Linked DNA regions of Homo sapiens: regions 1 and 2 are each linked to region 3. Evidence: promoter capture Hi-C in human tissues and cell types (Jung and others, 2019). All regions are on one chromosome and are shown on one strand. Each heading gives the region's core, a stretch centred on a gene start or on the middle of the fragment in contact. The rest is flanking DNA. Distances are from core to core; before and after follow the strand shown.

Region 1 (3,600 bases), core at 367-2,866, 200 kb before region 3:
TGGAATTAGCTCGATATTTTAGTCCAGACAAATTATGGAACATGCACACAAAAATCCAAATGTTCTCTTTGTGCACTTTTAGCTCTAGTCAGTATTATAATTTCCTATGTCAATTTCTAGTCTAGTGTCTGCATTCTGTCTTTAAAGTCTGGCAATCTGGCCTGATACTGATCCTTGCGCCACTGATATTTAAGCATGTACTCTGTATTTCCCATTGCAGACCTCCATTCACCTGTTGAGATCCCTGCTGCCCCATCTTGAGCCCCTGCAGCTGTTTTGCTGCCCTGAGAATGCAGTGCCCTTTGTTCACTGTCTTCCTCCCCTCTGTAGCTCTGATGTCAACAGGCAGTGGTTACAGGCAACTCTGTTCCCCCAAAACCTCATTGGCTTGGCCTTATATGTTACATTTTAGGTCACTCCCACTCACTTTGCCATACCAGCTCTGTATTATGTGTACAAAATTCCATGTCTTATTAATGCCCCCAGAATTAAAACATCCAGTTGGTAAAACAGTACCAGACACATATTAGGCACTCCATTCAAAAGCATTTGGTGAAGAATTTGCATTCCATCAACAAGTTCTGAACAAGTTTGGCATTACCAAAGATGAGGACATGAAATGGTAAAAGATGATGGTACCATCAGAGGTGAAATATGGGTTCTTTCATGTTGAGTTTAACGATCTGTATGCATATATAGCCATGGAAAGAGTATGGTACCTAATATTAAAATATGTAAGATGGTCCCACATTACCAGGAATGCTTTTTAGAAAAAATAATGCACATGGTAAGTGTCTAAACAATGTCACTAATGTGTAAGTCTATGAAAATGTGACTCCAGATTTTTATCTCCATCCCCAATGTTACCACTTTCTGGTAGATGACTAACAATAAAATGAATGTTGTGTTCTTTTTGTTCATTTTGTTCTTTTAACTTATAAAACATCGTATCTGTAAAGAGGAATAGTTGCATTGTCTGCTCTGGTTAAGAAGAGATATCAGAATTATCTTCTGAGGAATGAAAGGGATGCCGTGGGAGGGGAGGTCTAACCATGAATTTATTTTACCTGCTTGGCTAACACAATGCTCCAAATGGAGCCAGTCATCCTTGTGTTTTTATAACTCACATTAGAACTTAAGTTGGTTCAGCATGCCAGCAGAGCTTTGCTCAAAGCTCAGAACACAGTGTGGGCAGTTCAAAGCTTGCCAAAGTCTATTTATAAACCATGCAAAGCACATGCTCAGCGTTTGTGAATTCAAGTACAGTATAATACTGCAAGGGTTGTCAGCTCTTTCTCACTAAATTATATTTTTCAAGATTACTCTTTTCTCTCATTCTTTTTTGCAATAAAGGCGTAAAAGAAAGTTAGCACTTTCTTTTGAATGGAGCAAGTTAAATGAGAATGAGTGCCATCGCCAGGCCAGGTTTCCAACTACCTTAAATAGAGTAAAGAAGGTGGAGATCATAGTCTATGGCCAAAGCAGTCTATGAATGACTCATTTGGTGATAATATGCAGGGTGGATTACTGGTCAGGATAATACCCAAGGAGACATTTGAAATAACTCAGAAAGAAAATGAAGTAGGAGATTGGTAAGGGGGAAAAAAAAAGGGACAGATAGGAAAACAAATTTTAAAAAGCAAAAAGCATGAGGACTTAGTTCTTTGTAATTTCCTCAGTGATTCAGCACCCAGAATAAGGTTTTCTCTATTTATTCATTAACCATTCATTTCACTCTTAACATATGCTACCTTATATTATTACCATTTTTAATGTTTTCCCTCTATCCCCAACCACGTATTATCTGAGAATGTCTGATAATATCCAGGCATTAGATATACCGGGAGCATCCAACTCAGAGAGTGCCCGAAGGATGAGTTTATTTATTATCAGAGGTGGAATGCAGGAGAAATATCAATAGAACTTGGTTATAATTTTAATATATTAACATTTTTATTGAAAGCCAAATATGAAGATATTTCCTTTTTCAACTAGAATTTGCTTCAGCATATGAATTCGTCTCTGTATCACTGTTGTATAGCACTCTAGTGCATTCCTGGGATTGAATAAATGTTTGTTGAATGAATAAGTTACATACCATTGTATTTAAATTAACAATGATTATGATTCAATGTGGAAATGGCAAAATTATGATAATTAACGCATGGCAAATAATGTTCCTCCTTTGAGTAACTAACCCTCTTGTGCAATGCACATTTATGCTTGCATATATATATATATATATATATATATATATATTTAGAACTAAGAGAACTTCTTTTTCTATTTAAAAAGTTGTATAAACACTGAATAGTAATTGATTTCTTATAGAATCCACTTGTTTTTATGTTATGTGACCTTTCTAAACAAAACAATTATTTAAAAAACTGTCAATTTGGCACCTAAATAAATTTTCTTTCACTTCCTAATAGTAGTCACTCCTATGTCTACATTTATTTATTTAGTTGTAACATTAATGGAGTATTTTAGGAAACACATGATTCATTATGATTTTTTTAAAAACCAGAGGTCTATGTAAATGAAATGTGGTGTATGATACTCTGTTATGCAGACAGATATCAATTTTAAACAATGTTACTTTTTCCTCTTTGCTATTTTTGAAATTATTTATATGAAAATTAGAAGTTAAATCTTTATAGTTCTGGATAACTGAAATGTTCTATAATTGTCCTTACCAGCCCACATATACTATAAAATCATTCATGTTGTTTTTTACTTTCTCCTTGTAAACATAGCTTTAGCAAGTTATCACAGTTTTCAGAGCTGAATAGCTCTGTACATAGTCTGATTTCTAATCTAACATTCAAAAGCTATTCCCTTTAAAGAGCCAAAAAAAAAAAGTTTACAAACTAAAGTCACTCCAAAAGCAAAAAAATAAAAACAGATTATAAAGTCAGTTTCTCAGCACCATTGGATGGTACCCCAAATTTGGTTTTCTACAACTTTCTGAAAAGATGGTTTTTCACATTCCAATTCCACTGAGGTCAAGTCACAGGATATTTCAATATTTTAATATAATGTAATATGTGTCAAGCTTTGTGGTGAGTGTTGGTGATCTACCATTCACGTCAATGGTGAACAAGCTTTTACACGTACTGCTTTTACAGACTAGTGCAGCAGAGAGACAATTAACCAAAGAATCACGCTACAGTGAGATTAAAAACATCTATGCCAATGACACTTACAATAATGGCACTGCCTTTTTTGGTGTGATTTTGAACTATCTTCTCAACAAACAACAGAAAATAACAGAATTTAGTCTACCAGAGTGGAAGATATGTGTTAGCAATTCAAGGATGTTTCTGTTAAAAAGATGTACCCCATTACCTAGTGAGAGTAACATGCTCTCTAGCTACCCTTACATTTAAAGGCTATAAACCCTACAGAGTATATTTTTGGAGATAATTTAAGAACCCAGGTTTCTAGACGTATAGGGAAAAAATTATCCACAGAGTTAAAATAAAAGGCAGAAGAGATAACAAGGATCTCTTCTTTTTTCATCCGGCTTCATGAAATTTATATTGTTCCTCACACTAAAATTCAATGTATTAATGAAGTATATTGGTTAGTTCTCAAACT
Region 2 (3,990 bases), core at 574-3,073, 150 kb before region 3:
ACACATATATGGAAGACATATTTCCTTCTGCTCTGACTCCGGAAGAACTTGCACTGTTGCCTAGGCTGATAATCCCCGAAAAAAAGTAACAAATGCAATTGTACCCCCCACCCCCATATACAGCCCTCATATATATATATGAGAGAGAGAGAGGAAAAGATCATGAGACATGTCTTCTAGGGAAAAAAAATTCTAACTTCCCTAGCCACTGTAGTCATTTGAAACCTGAGTTAGACTATGAGTTAGGAAGTATTTTCATAGAGTTCAATTAATATATTTCTGCTCTATGCATGATGCTAACAGGTTTAAGAAACACAAAAGCCAAACCCAATAGAGAATCCATTTCTTCATTTCAAAAGGGTATGAATATACCCCTTTGGCAATCACAATGGAAACTGAAGAAGTATCATGTTCAAGGACACATAAAGAATTGTTTTTACAACAACCACTTTCCAAAAATAAGCATTGTAAAGCGAGTACAGTGGTTGCCAGTGTTAAATCTATGTTTCTCACTTCTTTCTTGCCTAGTTGCCTGAAGGACTCCTGGCAGAGTAGGCCGCCACAATGCAGGAAGCCATGGACCACTGGCCCAGTGCTTTCTGATCCACTGTGTGCTACAGGGCAAAGAGCTCCACATGGCTCCATGATATTAAAGAGGCATTTATAGAAGCAGATTCACTCTTTAGACCACAGCAGACTCAGCACCTTGCAACTTCAACGGATTAAATGGTTCCAAAGGGAGAATGCTATCCTCTAATTCTTCTACCAAGTAGACACCTGGCAAAACCTGACTCATTTTCTAGACCCACAGACCTACCACATATATAAACCCCTCTCACAAACTCTCTTTCCTCTGTCATCTTCTCCCGGTCCTTAGCCGCCAAATACTCACACTGATAACTTGAATAAATCACCCACTTAGGGATGAAAGCTTCCCTGGGATTGGTTTCAAAGAAAAGTCCTCAATAATGTAAGCTACCAATGGCCTATAATTGCCAAGGAAACTATTAGCCATTTGGAATTTGTTTTCTCATTTGTAACAGTAACATTTTCTTTTCTTCCTGGTCTATAAAGAATAAGCATTCATTCTTTCACTCATCTGTTAAACAAATGTTTATTGGTGCACTGATTACTGTTGTAAGCTCTGAGGTTGACGTAGCGATTCAGCCTAGGCCCCGCCTTTCAAGAATCTTACATCAAGACAAATACATAGATGAGGAAATATGTAATAGCCAGTGGTAAGTGCTTGCTATTACGGTCTGAGTGTTTGTGTCCTTCCAAAATTCATATGTTGAAATTTAATTACCAATGTGCAAGTATTAAAAGGTGGGGCCTTTGGGAGGTGACAAGGCCATGAGGCCAGACCCCTCAAGAATGAGATTAGCGTCCTTTTAAAAGAGGCTTGAGGGAATTTGTTTGCCCCTTTGCCTGTCCACCATGTGAGGACACATGAATCCAAAATTCAGGGAGACTCAAACATTAACTACTCCATGAAGGCACTGGTGGCCAGGTGTAACAGATGGCTCCATGTGCACAGAGGTGACGGAGCAGACACTGCTGTCCCTGGGGCATCCTGCCTCACAGGTGCCTTCATGGGGATAAGGCTAATGCATGGGACAGTATATGGTTTCAGATTTGGTAAACCTGTTTCTTTTCCTGATGATTTCTGATGATTTGCAATTTTTTTTTTTCCTTCAAAAATTCTCTTTCAGTTTCCAAAGTCACACGTACAGGAGAACTCAAAAGGGCCTAAAGATACCTTCCTACACTGGTCGGTGTCCTAGCTATTGGAGGGCAGAGACCCTAAAACTGCTCTTCTTTCTGCCTTTTCAGGGCCAGAGCTTGGGTGGACAATAGATATGATTAACAGAAGACACACTAGCAGCAAATATGCCTTCTCCCCCTAAAATTACTACCAGTATCATAATGTAATTAGTAATATTATCTTTATATTTTCTTTCCATAAAACATAGTCAATCCAACCTAACCATAAGAGCAGCATGCCCACATTAAATATTGTGATTGACTGGAATTTCAGTAAAATGTATCATGTAATAAAAACACTAAGGTTTAATGTAAAAAAGAAATTTAATTTTTCAAATTGTATTTTAACCTCTTTTTTATCCTCTTATTAATTACTTTAAGAAACAAAGATTTTTTGGGTAATACATTAATTTAATAAGGCATAATAAAGACACACCTCTTCTAGGAATAAATTATAGCAGAAAGTAGATCATTCCTATTGTGTAACAAGCCAGTGCTGGATTAATATATTTGTAAACATCTAAATTGAAAACAAAGATTGTGTTAGGAAAATAAGAGCTGGCGGTTGAGTTGAAGAACCTTGAAAATAATTAGATATATAATCATTTCTTACAAGTAAAGACTTTTTCAAAATTAATTTGTTTGATCTAGATCTGTTAACAATAATTGAAAATACCCTATATATTGAAAAATCTAGACATACACCATTTAATTGCATTCATGTATTCAACGAATATATTTTATTTAATTCCTATAATGTAACTAGTGCTGTGCTAGATGCTGATGATACAAAAATAAAGACCCAGACATCTGCTAAGGAAGTCACTTTAGTGTGACCATTTTTGAAAAGATAAAGAAGAGGTGGTGATTCAGTATAATGATGATTTACTTATTTTTAAGTTAAGTATCAGTGAGGTGTTTTAACTAACAATATTTTTCTATAGGCTGAAAATATTTTTGTATACTATGCTGTGCTTTCATAGCCTAATCTGACCCCAATTTATACGCATAAAAAATGATTGATTTTATGATGAGAACACATGGACACATACAGGTGAACAACAGACACTGGGGCCTACCAGATGGTGGAGGATGATGATGGAGAAGATCGGGAGAAATAACTAATGGGTACTAGGCTTAACGTCTGAGGCATGAAATAGTCTGTACCATAAACCCCCATGACATGAGCTTACCTTTATAACAAATCTGCCCGTGTACTCCTGAACTTAAAAGTTAATAAATAATAATAATTGATTTTGTACAGAAACTTGGCAATAGGATCACAGAAGTCTTTAATTGAATTTACTTTTATTCTCTTTGCACTGATTCACAGAGAGGCTAGCTTGAGCTCTTGCAACAAATGCTATATCATTTCTGAGGTGTAGCCTTTTCTTTCTCCTAACGCAACTTGTAACTTGGATGGAACTGTTACTCCCAGGAAATTCCGAGAATCTCCTGACTCAGAACTGGAATGAAGACACAACAATGGAGGGGATATCCCCACATACTCACCTGTTTTATTCATCAGCTCAGGCTGCCATAACAAAATACCACAGATGGGGTGGCTTAAATGCAGAAATTTATTTTTCCAAAGTTGTGGAGGTTGGAAGTCCAAGGTCAAGGTGCCAGCAGGGTTGGTTGCTGGTGAGACCTCCCTCCTCAGCTTGCAGAGGGGACTACTTGCTACTCCTTACACAGCCATTCCTCTATGTGTGCACACGTAGAGAGAGTGTGCGCTGGTGTTTCTTCCTTCTCTCATAAGGACTCCAGTCCTATTGGGTTAGGGTCCCACCCTTATGACCTTATTTAATCTTAATTACATTTTTAAGGTTCTGTTTCCAAATACAGTCACATTGGAAGTTAGGGCTTCAACATATGAATTTTCACGGATACAATTCAGTCCATAATGCAGATCTTTCAGAACAGATGTTATCACTCATGAAATAAGAAATAGATACCGGTTTTCCTTTTTTCCTTCCTTTTTTCCTTCTATTCTCCCAAGTCAAGCATCCATGTATTTTTAAAATAATGCATCCAGCATTTTACATGTAATTACGTAAAGTTTAAGAATGAAATACTGCTTTTAAATATTGATGTTTAAATGTAGTTCGGCATGGTAGCTCAGATTCTCCCAAGTTAAGCATCCATGCATTTTTAAAATAATGCATCCAGCATTTTACACGTAATTACATAAAGTTTAAGAATGAAATACTGCTTTTAAATATT
Region 3 (3,460 bases), core at 878-3,377:
AGTTCTTGAGGAGTTTGTATTCATCACACAAAATGTCATACAGACCTAGTGCATACATTTGCCATAAGAAAGCCCTATTATATTACATGATTAGAAGTTAAATCACATTTTTCAAATTTTAAATCGAAAAGAGCATAAGAATGATCTACACACCCACTCATTCTCACATTTTTATGCTTTCACACAGTGAATCAGCAAATGTATTCTTTTTCTGAATAATATATAAAAATAAGAATGTTTTGAAAACCTTTATACAGTTTGGCAGACTTAGCCTAATGGGTTGTTTAACAAAGTAAACTCCCTCATTGTTTTGGTTAGCTTTATTATTAAGAGTAAAAATCCTTCATTGCAAAACTTATATGAATCTGTGGTACAGAAAAATAAACTGGTTTACACATCATTGAGAAACTACCACATTCTGAAAATTACATTTATAGTTCCATCTTTGTCTTACAACCAAGTGCATAAGCGCATAAATCACAGATCAAAATAGACACCATCAGATAACTTTCAGGGGAAAGAAAAACATCCTAAGACAACACACAACAAAAAGCACTGTTTCAGCTAAATATTAAACAAAGCAGCAATAACTAACACTCATGGGCTTCACGACAACTGATAAACAAGAACACTTAAGGAATTCCTCTGCCAGTTTCAATGGCAAATCCTTGCTCTTTTGAACACTTTACTGATTGGACACTTAAACATCTTCTGCCTTGTAGTCACTTCAACCTTTATGAAACAGTTGTTGAAAACGGACATGACTATTCCAGTTAATTTATACTTTCTAAGGAAATATATTTAATGACAAGTGTGAGCAAGTAGCTCCTACCTCAAATTAACCACTTAGAGTGGTGTATTTTTCACCTCTCAACTCTCTACTCAGACCCTCCTTCCATTGCCCTTAGGGAATTGAAATTCAGAGACATGACGTTTTCCATTATTGGTTCCTTGCCCCTTTGCAACTGTACAACATTCCTCAAAAAGTACATAGAATTCTCCATCCTATAGGATCAGACAACAGTATCTATTTCAGGAGCAATAATATGCATAATGTAAGACAGAATAGTTTTTCTTGGAATTGTCTGTGTTAATTGTGATTTAAAGGTTACTGGTTCCGTCTATGACAATGGTGTTGCTGAGTTCACCTAAGTATTTTTGTTCAATCTGCATACTTTAAAAACTCAATGTGGCTAAAACTCAAACAGTCTAAATTAGACTGTTGTAAGGATACCATGTGCCCTAAACAGTGGTTTTTTTAGAGCATTATACTTAAAGACAACATTTTCCTTAAAAAAAGAAAAAAAACATGTCTATGAAGAAACAAAGATACTGCAAAATTAGTATAGAGAAGAAAAGTCCAAAATTCCGTATTCCTCTGTTTAACAACCTGTACGGTAAATTGTAGGTGACAATCACGTTGTTACATGAATAGGAATGCAAAGCATAAAGAACAAGAGCTACATCTTGCTTTTCCTAAAGAAATTAAAGACAAGTTTAACCCGCACCTGCCAAACTGTCTTAAAAGGGACAGAAATAGGTGGGAACGGAAAGGCTCACCTCTCCTGTACCCCAGAGTGCGTCTCCCTGAAATCATCTTCAATATAGGCAATATATCTGTCACCTTCTCTTTTATCTTTTTCGTCCATTCTAGTCAATGGCAGACCCTTTGCTGCACTCCCCTGCCCACTATCTCAAAGACACATTACAGAATAAGGGGACCCAAGTGTCACTTACCAGTTGCATGCCACAGATAAAGATAAGCGTGCACCTGCCACTGCAATAACCCATGGTTTCCGAGACCCCTGCCACAGCCAGACTGTCCCACGTCGGCCACCGTCGAGCCCCCACTTTATCCAATCAGATCGCGGGGAAGGACACGCAAACCTGCCGAGGGCTCGGGGGCTCCGGGCTGCTGCTGCTGCCAGCGTCCTGGGAAGTGACAGGCATTAGGACCTGCTGGCGCGGCGGCGGCGGCGGCGGCAGCTCCAGCCGCGCCCGCCACACATACCTTCACTCGCTCGGTGCACACGCCGCGCCGCGGGCAGTGCCGCCTGCGGAGGCGCGCTCGGGGCCCGCAGGGGCAGCAGCGGCAGCCTGGCAGCGCCGCCGCGCCCTCGGGCATCTGGCCCGCGAAGTTTCGCCCCTGCCGCTCTCCGCGCCGCTCGCCTCACGCCCCCCAGCGCGGCCGCCGCCCGACGCGCGCTCGCCCTGCGCTCGCCGCGCGCCGGCTCCGGGGGCGGCAGAAGCGCGCGAGGGCCGCTGCCCGCCTCCCTGCGCAGCCCGCGGCTCCTAGGCACCCTGCGTTGCTGGGCCCGGCGGGCGGGGGTGGGGCGGGGAGCGGGGCGCGGGCCGAGCGGGGGCGTCCCGGCTCCGCGGTCCCCGGCGGCTGCTGCAGCGGCTGCTGCGCGCAATGATGCGGGTCCGCGCCGCGTCCCAGCAGCGGCGCTGCCCCTCCCTTCGCCCAGATGTGTGAATCCTCCTCCTACAACAAATCCTTCATCCTGCTCCCTGCCGCCCCCTCCCAGGGGGCCAACTTTGAGGACCGCAGGGGCTGCCGCCCAGGCGGCCGCAGGCGGCGGTGTCTAGGCGGAAAGGAGCGGCGCGAAAGCGGCGGCGGCGGGGACCGGGGCCTCGGGGCGAGGAGTCTGGGCGGCATGACCGCGGTTTGCTGAGCTGAAGTCGGTCGTGCTCCCAGAGCCACTCCGCGGGAGCGAACCGAGTGTGTGTGTGCGCGCGCGCTCGGGGGAGAAGGGACCAAGAGGAGGGTTAGGGAAGGAAGCTGGGGTCATGGAACAGGGGTGCAACCGAGGCATCCAGAGCGGCCGGAAAGCCCGAGTGGCGGAGAGGCCAGAGGTGGCGAGAAGGGGCGCGGCGGCACCGGACGCACCGCCCAGCACCTGGCTCCCCTGGGCTCCCGAGGATCTGAAGGGTCGGAGCGCGGAGAGCTACGGAGCCGACCCTGCTTGGGGAAGGGGACCGAGTTGCTGCTGGAGTTGGGAAAAATTAGCAACCGGAGGGAATAGGGATGCAATGAGTTGCTGTTGCTGCTTCAAACTGTTGTTTGTTTTCACTTAAAATACTAAAGAGTCGGAGACTAGTTTAATACTCAGTTACTTCAGCTTCACAGCAGTCCCAGCTGGGTGTGGATTCCTAGTGGAGATGCACCAGCCTCCGCTGAGCACCGGCCTGAAAGCTGTGAAGCGGCTGCTACCTGCAGAGACAGGCTTCGGAGCCCGCTGCTGCCACCTGCGGGCGGAAAGCTGAAGGGCGCAACATGCTGGCCCAAGTGGCTGCCCCTGGGGCGTGGATATTTAGGACCAAGTTTCCTTTTTAGCCCTGGCAGCTAAGGAAAGCAATCCTAACTTTTCCAGGAAGTGAAGATTATTTGTTGAGATCCACTGAGGAACTGACTCATTGGGGTGAAGTGTCGCGATTGATAAGAGGATGGTTTAGGGAG

The links. The method cuts DNA at HindIII sites, captures the fragments that hold promoters and counts their contacts. A contact is called where the count stands out against the background at its distance.
Region 1: a contact is called between a fragment that was not itself captured here and the fragment with the promoter of NKAIN2 in region 3, in 2 of the 25 tissues and cell types used here (dorsolateral prefrontal cortex and hippocampus).
Region 2: a fragment that was not itself captured here is called in contact with the fragment with the promoter of NKAIN2 in region 3 in 1 of the 25 tissues and cell types used here (hippocampus).

What each region holds. Positions count from the first base shown.
Region 1 is chr6:124,000,460-124,004,059 of GRCh38, reverse strand. The region is part of intron 1 of NKAIN2 (sodium/potassium transporting ATPase interacting 2); the gene reads right to left. Among named protein-coding and RNA genes, the nearest start is that of NKAIN2, 200 kb to the right of the region's middle. The HindIII fragment of the contact is 6,679 bases long and covers 1-3,600 here.
Region 2 is chr6:123,955,941-123,959,930 of GRCh38, reverse strand. All of the region lies in intron 1 of NKAIN2 (sodium/potassium transporting ATPase interacting 2), which reads right to left. Among named protein-coding and RNA genes, the nearest start is that of NKAIN2, 150 kb to the right of the region's middle. The HindIII fragment of the contact is 4,534 bases long and covers 1-3,990 here.
Region 3 is chr6:123,802,532-123,805,991 of GRCh38, reverse strand. It overlaps NKAIN2 (sodium/potassium transporting ATPase interacting 2), which reads right to left and starts at 2,127. Exons shown (of 7, transcript NM_001040214.3): 1 at 1,738-2,127. The coding sequence starts at 1,791. RefSeq lists an enhancer at 3,322-3,371. The HindIII fragment of the contact is 12,261 bases long and covers 1-3,460 here.